2 separate regions of the Homo sapiens genome follow, and region 1 is linked to region 2. Evidence: promoter capture Hi-C in human tissues and cell types (Jung and others, 2019). All regions are on one chromosome and are shown on one strand. Each heading gives the region's core, a stretch centred on a gene start or on the middle of the fragment in contact. The rest is flanking DNA. Distances are from core to core; before and after follow the strand shown.

Region 1 (4,495 bases), core at 1,432-3,931, 160 kb after region 2:
CCAGCCGTGGTGCACGGGGACGCCGAGCCGCGCGGCCCTGCGCGCGCTCAGGTGCACGCCACACGCAGGCGGGCTCGGACATGCTGTGCGCTCACGCACGCCCCGGCGCCCCTGCGGGGAATTCGGGCGCGCCTCCGGACCCGCGCGCGTGCACGGCACCCACCCTCGGCCCCGCGCGCACCCCCGCCCTGAGCGCTCGCCTGCGCGCGCTCACGCTCTGGCACACCTGCATGCGCGGACACGCACGCGCGGACATACAGGCGCGTGAGGAGTGCAGCCGAGTCGCGCCGCGGCCGGGCGCGGCCCCTTTATTCGCTTCAGGAGGCAGAAAACTTTCTCAGCGCGACGACCACGAGCGCCAGCACCACGCAGGTGGCCAGCAGGGCGGCGATCACGATGGCCGCGATAGCGCCGGGCCCCAGCGACCCTGCGGAGGACGGAGGACCATGTCACCTGCTAGCCCCCGCCTGGCCGGCCCTTCTCCCCGCGCCCCCCGCCCCCCGCCCCTCCTAATTTCTCCCTCTCCCCTCCCTCCCCCGCCCCGCCCGTACCGCCGCCCTGGTCCAGCCGCTCCTGCGCGGTGCTGTCCTCGGGTCCTGGCGCGACGGTGGGGGCTGGGGGACCGGTGTCCACGGGCTCCCGGCCGGGGCTGGTGCTCTCCACGGGGCCTTCTCCCGACGGCAGCTCGGCCGGCTCGTTCCACAGCGTGGGCACGGGCTCCTGTGGAACATCGTCTGCAAAGCCAAGGAGAGGTGCTGGGGCCCCAGGTGACGGGGCCGACAGGGACGTCACCCCCCACCTCTAGGTTAAGCAAGTTGCCGGTAGCGCTGTGTGAGGGGTCTGGGCTCAGCGCTGCACTAGCCCTCACATTTCCCAGGCTAAGAAGCTGAAGCCAGTGCGTTGCTGCCTCCCATTGGGCAGGGCCGGTGGGTGGGCAGGAGGAGTGTCTGTTCAGTGTAAGGGAGGTGCCCCCCACAAAGCCCTTCTCTGCTTATAGGGTTGGGAGTTGGCAGGATTTGGGGTACCCAGGGACCAGAGAGCAGAAAGGAGACATTCTCAGTCCCACAGAAAGCACAGGCTGAGACGCCTGCATGATAACCCCCGCCCTGTATCCTCACCAGCCAGCCCACCCCAGTTGTCCTCCCCTGACCACCACTCCAACCCTGGGCCATCCATCCCCGGCAACCAGACAGGATGCCCCAGAAACGCTGGAAAGCTCAACATGGGGATGGTAGGTCGGCTCTTGGCCTCTCCAGCCCAGCCAGACCATCTGACATCACAGTGTTAGCAGGGCAGGCCTGCCCATGTCCTAATCTCTCTCTCTCTCTTTTTGAAACAGAGTCTTGCTCTGTGCCCAGGCTGGAGTGAAGTGGTACAATCTCGGCTCACTGCAGCCTCCGCCTCCCGGGTTCAAGCAAGCGATTCTCCTGCCTCAGCCTGCGGAGTAGCTGGGACTACAGGCACCTGCCACTACACCCAGCTAATTTTTGTATTTTTAGTTGAGACGGGGTTTGCCATGTTGGCCAGGCTGATTTTGAACTCCTGACCTCAGGTGATACACCCGTGTCGGCCTCCCAAAGTGCTGCGATTACAGGTGTGAGCCACTGCGGCCGGCCCCATGCTCTAATCTCAACTGGGATAGAGACTGTGATCCAGGGACACTCGACCCTCAAGCCGGTTCCCTGGATGAGCTTGGGGATGTCCCAACACCTCATCTCTTTGACTCCAGCTACTCTGTGGTGTGGGAACTGCTTTTATCCCCATTTCAGAGACAAGAAAGCCAAGGCTTGGGGATAAGGTGCCGTGGTGGTGAGCACAGGTGGGCTGAAGGCCTTGGACAGTTGCAGGAGCGGTTGTGCTGCCCAGAAACAGTGCAGGGAGGCTGCCGTTCTGTGAACAGACCCTGCCGGCCAGCCGGCGACCCTAGGGCACCTTTTGTCCCTGCGGGTTCCATCCCTGAGCGCTGGGGCAAGAGTCAAGCCAGACACTTGCCCTCCTCATAGGTTCACCAGCACCCAGAGAGGCGGATGCTCGAGAAGACACAGAGGTCCTTCCAGGGTTTTCTGGCCAGTTGTGTCCATCTAGGGCAAACCACGCAGAAACATCAGCCAACCCAGACTCAGGGTCAGTCTTAAAGTAAATGGGCCTTCCCAAATGTCAAAGTTAGGAAAAACAAAGAAAGGCCGAAAGGTTCCAGATCAGAGACTAAGGAGACAGCTCAATGTTCCTGGACGGGGAGGGACAGGCCTGTGATCGGAGACTCAGGTCCGTTGGTGAAGTTTGAACAGGGTGTGGCTTAGGACTGCCTCAGTGCTCACTTCCTGGTTTTGATAGCTGACTCTGGTGTGTTAAGAGAATGTCCTTGTTCTTAGGAAGAATTTAGGGGCAAAGGAACATGACTTCTGCAACTTACTCTCAAATGATTTCAGCATTCAGATAGAGGATTCAGCAATGTAGCAAAATGTTGGCAGTTGGCAAGACTAGGTGGATGGACTCCTGGAGTTCATTGGAGTATTTGTGCAACTTTTCTGTAAACTTCACATCTTTCCACAATAAAATGTTAGCAGGTCCCTGGCTTCTGGGCCTCTCTCAAGCCTGGAGAGGTCAGTTGCAAGGCTCAGCTCTGAGACAGCTTGCTGACCTTTCACCTGACCTGCCACATTCCCCAGGGCTGGCCCAAGGCAGAACCCCTTTCCAGAAAAGACCTCTGGCAGGAGGCCCCATGGGTGGAAGGCCCATTGGCCCCCAACTGGGGGAGGCTTCCCTCCCGAGGGGCCCAAGGCTGCACTGTAGCACTGATGTCTCTCTAGCCTCCCGCAAACCTTGAAGACCACCCTGAGAGGAGGGGAAGTGACCCAGCCAGGCCTCCCATGTCGCAGCCAGAAAGGCAGGGGTCTGCAGCCTTGCAGTCCCCATGGAAGGCCCCAGGCCCCTGGCGTGCTGCCTCAGGCTTCTGGGGGCTGGGCAGGTAAAAGGCCTGAGTGCGCCCACCGCCTGGCAGGCACCAGGGTCTAGGCTCACTGACTGCCTGAACATGTCCAAAGAAATGGACAAATGACACACCCAAGACAGACTGGCAGGTAGGCACCTCCCTGCATCTGGAGGCCGCGGCAGGGCTTCTGGGTACCAGGCCCAGCTGAGCCGGGTGGCATCTGCGGGAATCAGCCGAGGAGTGGCAGGCCTCCAGCCCCTGAGAAGGCAGGGCTCAGTACCCAGGCCAGCCCAGCAGGGGTGAGCTGCCACCCTTGACGGTACCCTCTGAGCAGGGCAGTGGGGAGCCCCACTCAGGCCCTGTCCCCATCTGTCCCCCGTGACCCAGCCTGTCTCTGCTGCGCCCACCACCAGACATACCTGCCCTGGCCTCCTCCCACTGTACACAGCCCCCTCCTGTCCAGCCAGGCCATGAAGCTTTCTAATCAGGAGGGCTGGGGCCTATCCTTGCTCCATGCCCCAATCCACCTTCCTGACCTGTAAGACGGGGGTTCAGACTATGCTGTCAAGCATCTTGCACAAGGAGGTAACTGTGTGAACACCAGCATCTTCAGCTGCTGCGTCTGGCCTGGGGTGCGCCTTTGGACACAAGCCCAGTTGCTATGGGTCTGCAGCCGCTGGCTGCCACAGGAATCCCTCACAGGCTGGCCCAGTACCCATCTGCACCCAAGCGGCCAGGGCCCCAGGAGCCACCAGCTCCCTGCCAACCTAGGCTGGTGCCCAAGTGGCAGACACATAGGCTCGGAATGACAGCCTGCACTCAGCCACCGATCCACCAGGAAAAGGGGTGCCGCTGCCAGGGAGGGGCCGAGGCACTTCTTATCCTCATCTATGTTTCTAGAATTTACTCCAGTAAGAAGGGAAAGCAAAGCTGAGAGGCAATTCCCATCTTCCCCCAAATCCATCCTTCTGGGAAGCTGGGAGCAGAGCAGTTTCCCAGCAGGAGTCCTGTCTGGGGAGGGGGGAGATGGGGCAGGAGCGAAGGTGTGGAGGACGGAACTCACGGCGTGCCAGGCGGACAGTGAATAGGCCAGGGTGACAGAAAGTGAGGTTGGCAAAGAGGTGGGGGCACGGAGGACCCCAAGAAAGTTCCATGGCGGTAATGAGGCCCAGACTCCACTGACCAGAATTAGCCATGTGGTGTGGCTACGCGCTCTGACCCAGGGAAGCAGGGGCTGGTGGCACTGCCACAAGCCTGGGCACCACGGGCTCTCTCCCAGCCCCACTGGCCCCAGCCGCCCTGCCTTTTGGTAAATAAGTGTGTTCTGACCACAGGGCCCTGAGGCCAGGCGCCTCTGCTCACAGACAGCCTTTGTGTGGGCCATGAAGGGCCTTTTCATCCCTGCCCTGGCCTCCTGCCCGCTCAGCCCGGCCTGCTCCCACCTCAGTAGCTGAGGCCACAGGCCCCCAACAGGGAGGGCCTGTGCCTCAGATGGGGCCTGGGCCTCAGCCCACAAGGCCGCTCCTTCCCTTCCTGTCTGCTACAGGACCCCAGCCCACAGAG
Region 2 (4,004 bases), core at 526-3,025:
CGGGCACCACCAGGCTCCGGGCCCTGTCGTGAAGCTGCAAACAATGCCCCGGGCCCACTGCAAAGGTGGACCACTCCCGGTAGGCTGGGCCGATGGCCGCATCAGTGAGGTCTCTGGGGGAGCTCCAGGTCCTCCCGTGGTCAGTGCTGGTGACTTGGCACAGCCGCGTCACATTGGCCCTGGTCTGCAGCTGCTGTTGCTCCGTGACTTGCCCAGGGATGGCAATGAAGAAGAGGAAGAGGGTCCCCGTCTGCGCGTCATACAAGGGGCATGGGTTCATGGACCGGTGGCCATCCAGCCGGGCCTGGGCCACCACCTCCTGAGCTTGCCACTGAGTAGGGAGAGAGAAAGAAGAAGGCAGCCTTGAAACAGCTGGGGATGGTGCCAGGAGCTGCATGAGTGGGAGGGGTGGGCACGGGTGTGTCTCCCGGGTTAGAGTCAAAAGTCATCGAGAAGAACTCTTCACCCAACACTCATATCCTCCTTGCAACGTTTCCCCAGAGCTGCGGGGCCCAGGGTGCCACCTCACCCCTCCAAGGCAGCCACACTCGGCTGAGTGATTCTGTTCCTTCCATTGCCATCAATATGCATTTACAGAACACCCACCTGCCAGACCACAAGATATGAAGATGACTCGTGCATGAGCCATTCCCAACTTCATCCTGGTTCCTCCACTTCCCACCCCAGTCCAGCTCACCATCCTTGAATAGCAAAGCCCTGGCGGAAGGTGCAATAACCTGACCAGTACAAGACAGAATGTGACGGTCACCTCTCACCTTCTACACTCCATATCCTACTCATGTAGCCAAGGAGGAGTCACATTGAGCTTCCAGAATCCCCAAGTCTATGTCACATGTGCTGTCTGTCCCCATTTATTAACAGCTACCCCCATTGGGCAATTCTAAGCACAGACACAGCACCAAAAGTCTAACATCCATGGTCTCATCTAATGCCTCAATCCCCAGGGAACAGGTGTTAGTAGCTCCATTATTACAGTGAGCAAGAGACCGCGACAGGGAGGAGGAGTTGCCTAGGCCACATCTGTGGTCAGTGGCGGAACCAGGACTTGAACCCAGGTCCATCTGCTTCAAATCCCATGCTTTGAACAGCTGTGTAGTAATGACCACAAAGGAATGATAATAATATTAAACTCTTCAAATATGATCAGCCAGCCTTGGGTGCTGTCATCAGGATTAATTATTTAATCTATAAAATGGGACTTTAGGACACAAGCCATCACCCCACCCCAAGTCCCCAAGTTAATTTTACTCAAAGGACACAACCCTCCATTATGCAACACTGAACTATTCCTCCGTGAGGTCATCACGGATGCTGGGCAACTCATTCAATCTTTCATGAAAACAGATGGAGGCCAGCTGGACTAATTCACAGTGAACCCAGAGGTCCAGGGAACCATTAGGGGCACTTTCTCTGCTCTATCTCTCCTCCGGAGTACAGCCATTGAGGGATAAAGTTGTCCCTGTATTTCTTGAGATCCAGGACTGGCCCCTGATCACAGCAGCAAAGGGTGTGGCAGAGCCCTGGGGAGCCAGTGCAGACACCTCCTGCCTCACCTGAACCTGGTGGGTGGGTGCGTCGTAGTCTCCTCTGCGCAGGACAATCAGCTCTGCGTGCTCATCCTTCTTGCTTGCCCGCTGTTCCGCGAAGGCCAGCAGGGACTGCTGCCCAGGCAGGTAGAGCAGGGCAGGGATTCTGTAGGCATGGGCTCCCGACTGGAACACGCTCTCCTTCTGCAGGACAGGAAGGGACGCCATGGGGCTGGGGGGTGGACAGGAAGAGAAGATGTGTCACCTGCAGCCACACCTGAGATGGGCTCAGAGTCATTCACCAAGACAGGTGGTGCTCACCCCCTGGCTGAGTGGACCAAAGTCAGGGCGGCCTGTCCTCTTCCCGCGTGGGGTTCATTCTCCTTTCCTACATCTCAAGACCCTGCTTCTTAATTCTGCCTTTGCCTCGGTGGATATCGGGAGGGGGTATTGCAAAAGCGTGTTTTGGATTCGATTTTTATTCTAAGTTAACAATGCTCCTTACAACAGATTTTCGATAACCTCCAGCTGCTTTTGCCAAACCCAGCCCATCAATCCAGGGGCAAACCTCGGGAGGACAGCAGTGCAGGCCGGGTGGCATTCGGCAGCTGCCCAAATGCCAGAAAGTGACACATGGGAGCTTTTTATAACTCCAGAGCCCTAGAAAGTTGTTTCAAAGAAAAGGAAAAAGAAAAAGCATGGCTTCTAAGGCTCTGCTCCCCAGGCTGCCTGAGGCTGAGGCCCGTCTGCCCCCGCTGCTGCGTGGGCTCCCCCTGAGGCAGCGAGGGGGCGGCGCTGCAGTGGGAAAGGAAGAGACAGGGGCTCCTGACAGCTAACCCAGGCTGGGGGCGTGGGGTGCTCCAGAGGTCTAAGAAAATAACAATTAAAAATAAGTCTTCAGCTAAAAAGGGTAGGGAGGGGACAGAGGTAACTTGGGGACAGTGGGTGACAGTGATTTTCGGGCTAAGCTGCCTAGGTCCCTTTAGGAGGATGCATCCCGCAGCTCTGGGGAGTGTTGGCTGCAGGGCCCTGGCCTGGGGAGGATGGGCCAGTTGTTCCCAGATGAAGAATCTGCCCCAGGTCATACCCAAGAAGGGCTGCTTGATGATTGGTCCACTCAGAGCCTGAAGACCCTCTTCCTGAACTCCTGACCAGGAACAGTGCGGCTCCGGAGCTCCCTCCGGGCGGCTGGGCCTTCCCTGAGACTGCATTACAGCCGCCTCTTTCTCTGCTGCTCCTCCCTTTCCCCCAGAGGCTCTTGCCTGCCGTGGGTCTCCGTGTCAGAGCCGGCGTCCTGGGCACCCCGTCTGAGACACAGCCTTTGCAGAGGGCAAGTGGGCAAGAGGCCAGCAAGAGGGGCAAGGTTTGCCTTTGTGCACCCTTTTGTACTGCTCTCATTTTTCTACCACATGCATGCGTTATCTATTTAAAACTTAGCTTCTTTGAGAAATAAATGTAATCTATCAGTCTTTCATTCAACCACAGTGAACGTTAATATTAGGACGATGTGAGAAAATAAAACTGAGAAGGGCAAAAGCTGCACAAGGAAAAAATGTGCTATTCCCTGAACTTCGGTGGGAGATTCATGGCTTGGTGATAGAATCACCAAATTATAATCCAAGGACACAGGCCTTGATAGGTATCGGGAGGCCTATGCTGAAACGCTGTTAGAAAATGTCAGCAGGAAAGAATCAAATATGATAACAAGTAAAAATGAAAATGGAGAACTGTGCAGTTTCACAGTGTTCTCTGGAAAATTGATCAAGGATTTATTTAAGCTCCATAGAGTGGGCTCTGGAAAGTGTCCTTGATGGAAATTCAGCAGAGTTGGTATAATTCAGTTTAAAATGTTTGTATTTAAAATGTCCTCAGGGCCAAAATTTCTGTATGGATTACAATGGCTGGCCTTCTCTACACAATGTGGGAGGAAAGGAGAGAAGAAGTTTAGCTGAGGAAATCTTTTTTTTTTTTTCTTTTTTTTTAGATGGAGTTTCGCTCTTGTTGCCCAGGCTGGAGTGCAATGGCGAGATCTCGGCTCACTGCAACCTCCGCCTCCCAGGTTCAAGTGCTTCTCCTGCCTCAAGCTCCCGATTACAGGCATGCACCACCATGCCCAGCTACTTTTGTATTTTTAGTAGAGACGGGGTTTTTCCATGTTAGTCAGGCAGGTCTCGAACTCCTGACCTCAGGTGATCCTCCCGCCTCAGCCTCCCAAAGTGCTGGGATTACAGGCATGAGCCACCACGCCCGGCCAGCTGAGGACATCTATAAAGACATTCTAGAGGGAAAACAAGACAGAGACGTCTTCGGGAGGAATCACAAGGCAAGACACACACCAGGCCTTTGGGGTTGAGTAGGGGTCCAGCCTAAGGCCTAGGAAACCGGGCTGATGGGCTCCATGAGGTGAGTGTGACCAGAACTGGTGGCTCATGCCTTAGAGAGAAGATGGGGCAAGGG

The links. The method cuts DNA at HindIII sites, captures the fragments that hold promoters and counts their contacts. A contact is called where the count stands out against the background at its distance.
Region 1: a contact is called between a fragment that was not itself captured here and the fragment with the promoter of NEU2 in region 2, in 1 of the 25 tissues and cell types used here (spleen).

What each region holds. Positions count from the first base shown.
Region 1 is chr2:232,872,179-232,876,673 of GRCh38, reverse strand. SNORC (secondary ossification center associated regulator of chondrocyte maturation) reads right to left here. Exons shown (of 3, transcript NM_001394206.1): 2 at 552-734; 3 at 1-427. The coding sequence ends at 318. Among named protein-coding and RNA genes, the nearest start is that of SNORC, 4.2 kb to the right of the region's middle. RefSeq lists a silencer at 116-185 and an enhancer at 3,715-4,480. The HindIII fragment of the contact is 7,170 bases long and covers 1-4,495 here.
Region 2 is chr2:233,030,443-233,034,446 of GRCh38, reverse strand. NEU2 (neuraminidase 2) reads right to left here and starts at 1,775. Exons shown (of 2, transcript NM_005383.2): 1 at 1,575-1,775; 2 at 1-331. The coding sequence starts at 1,775. The HindIII fragment of the contact is 19,695 bases long and covers 1-4,004 here.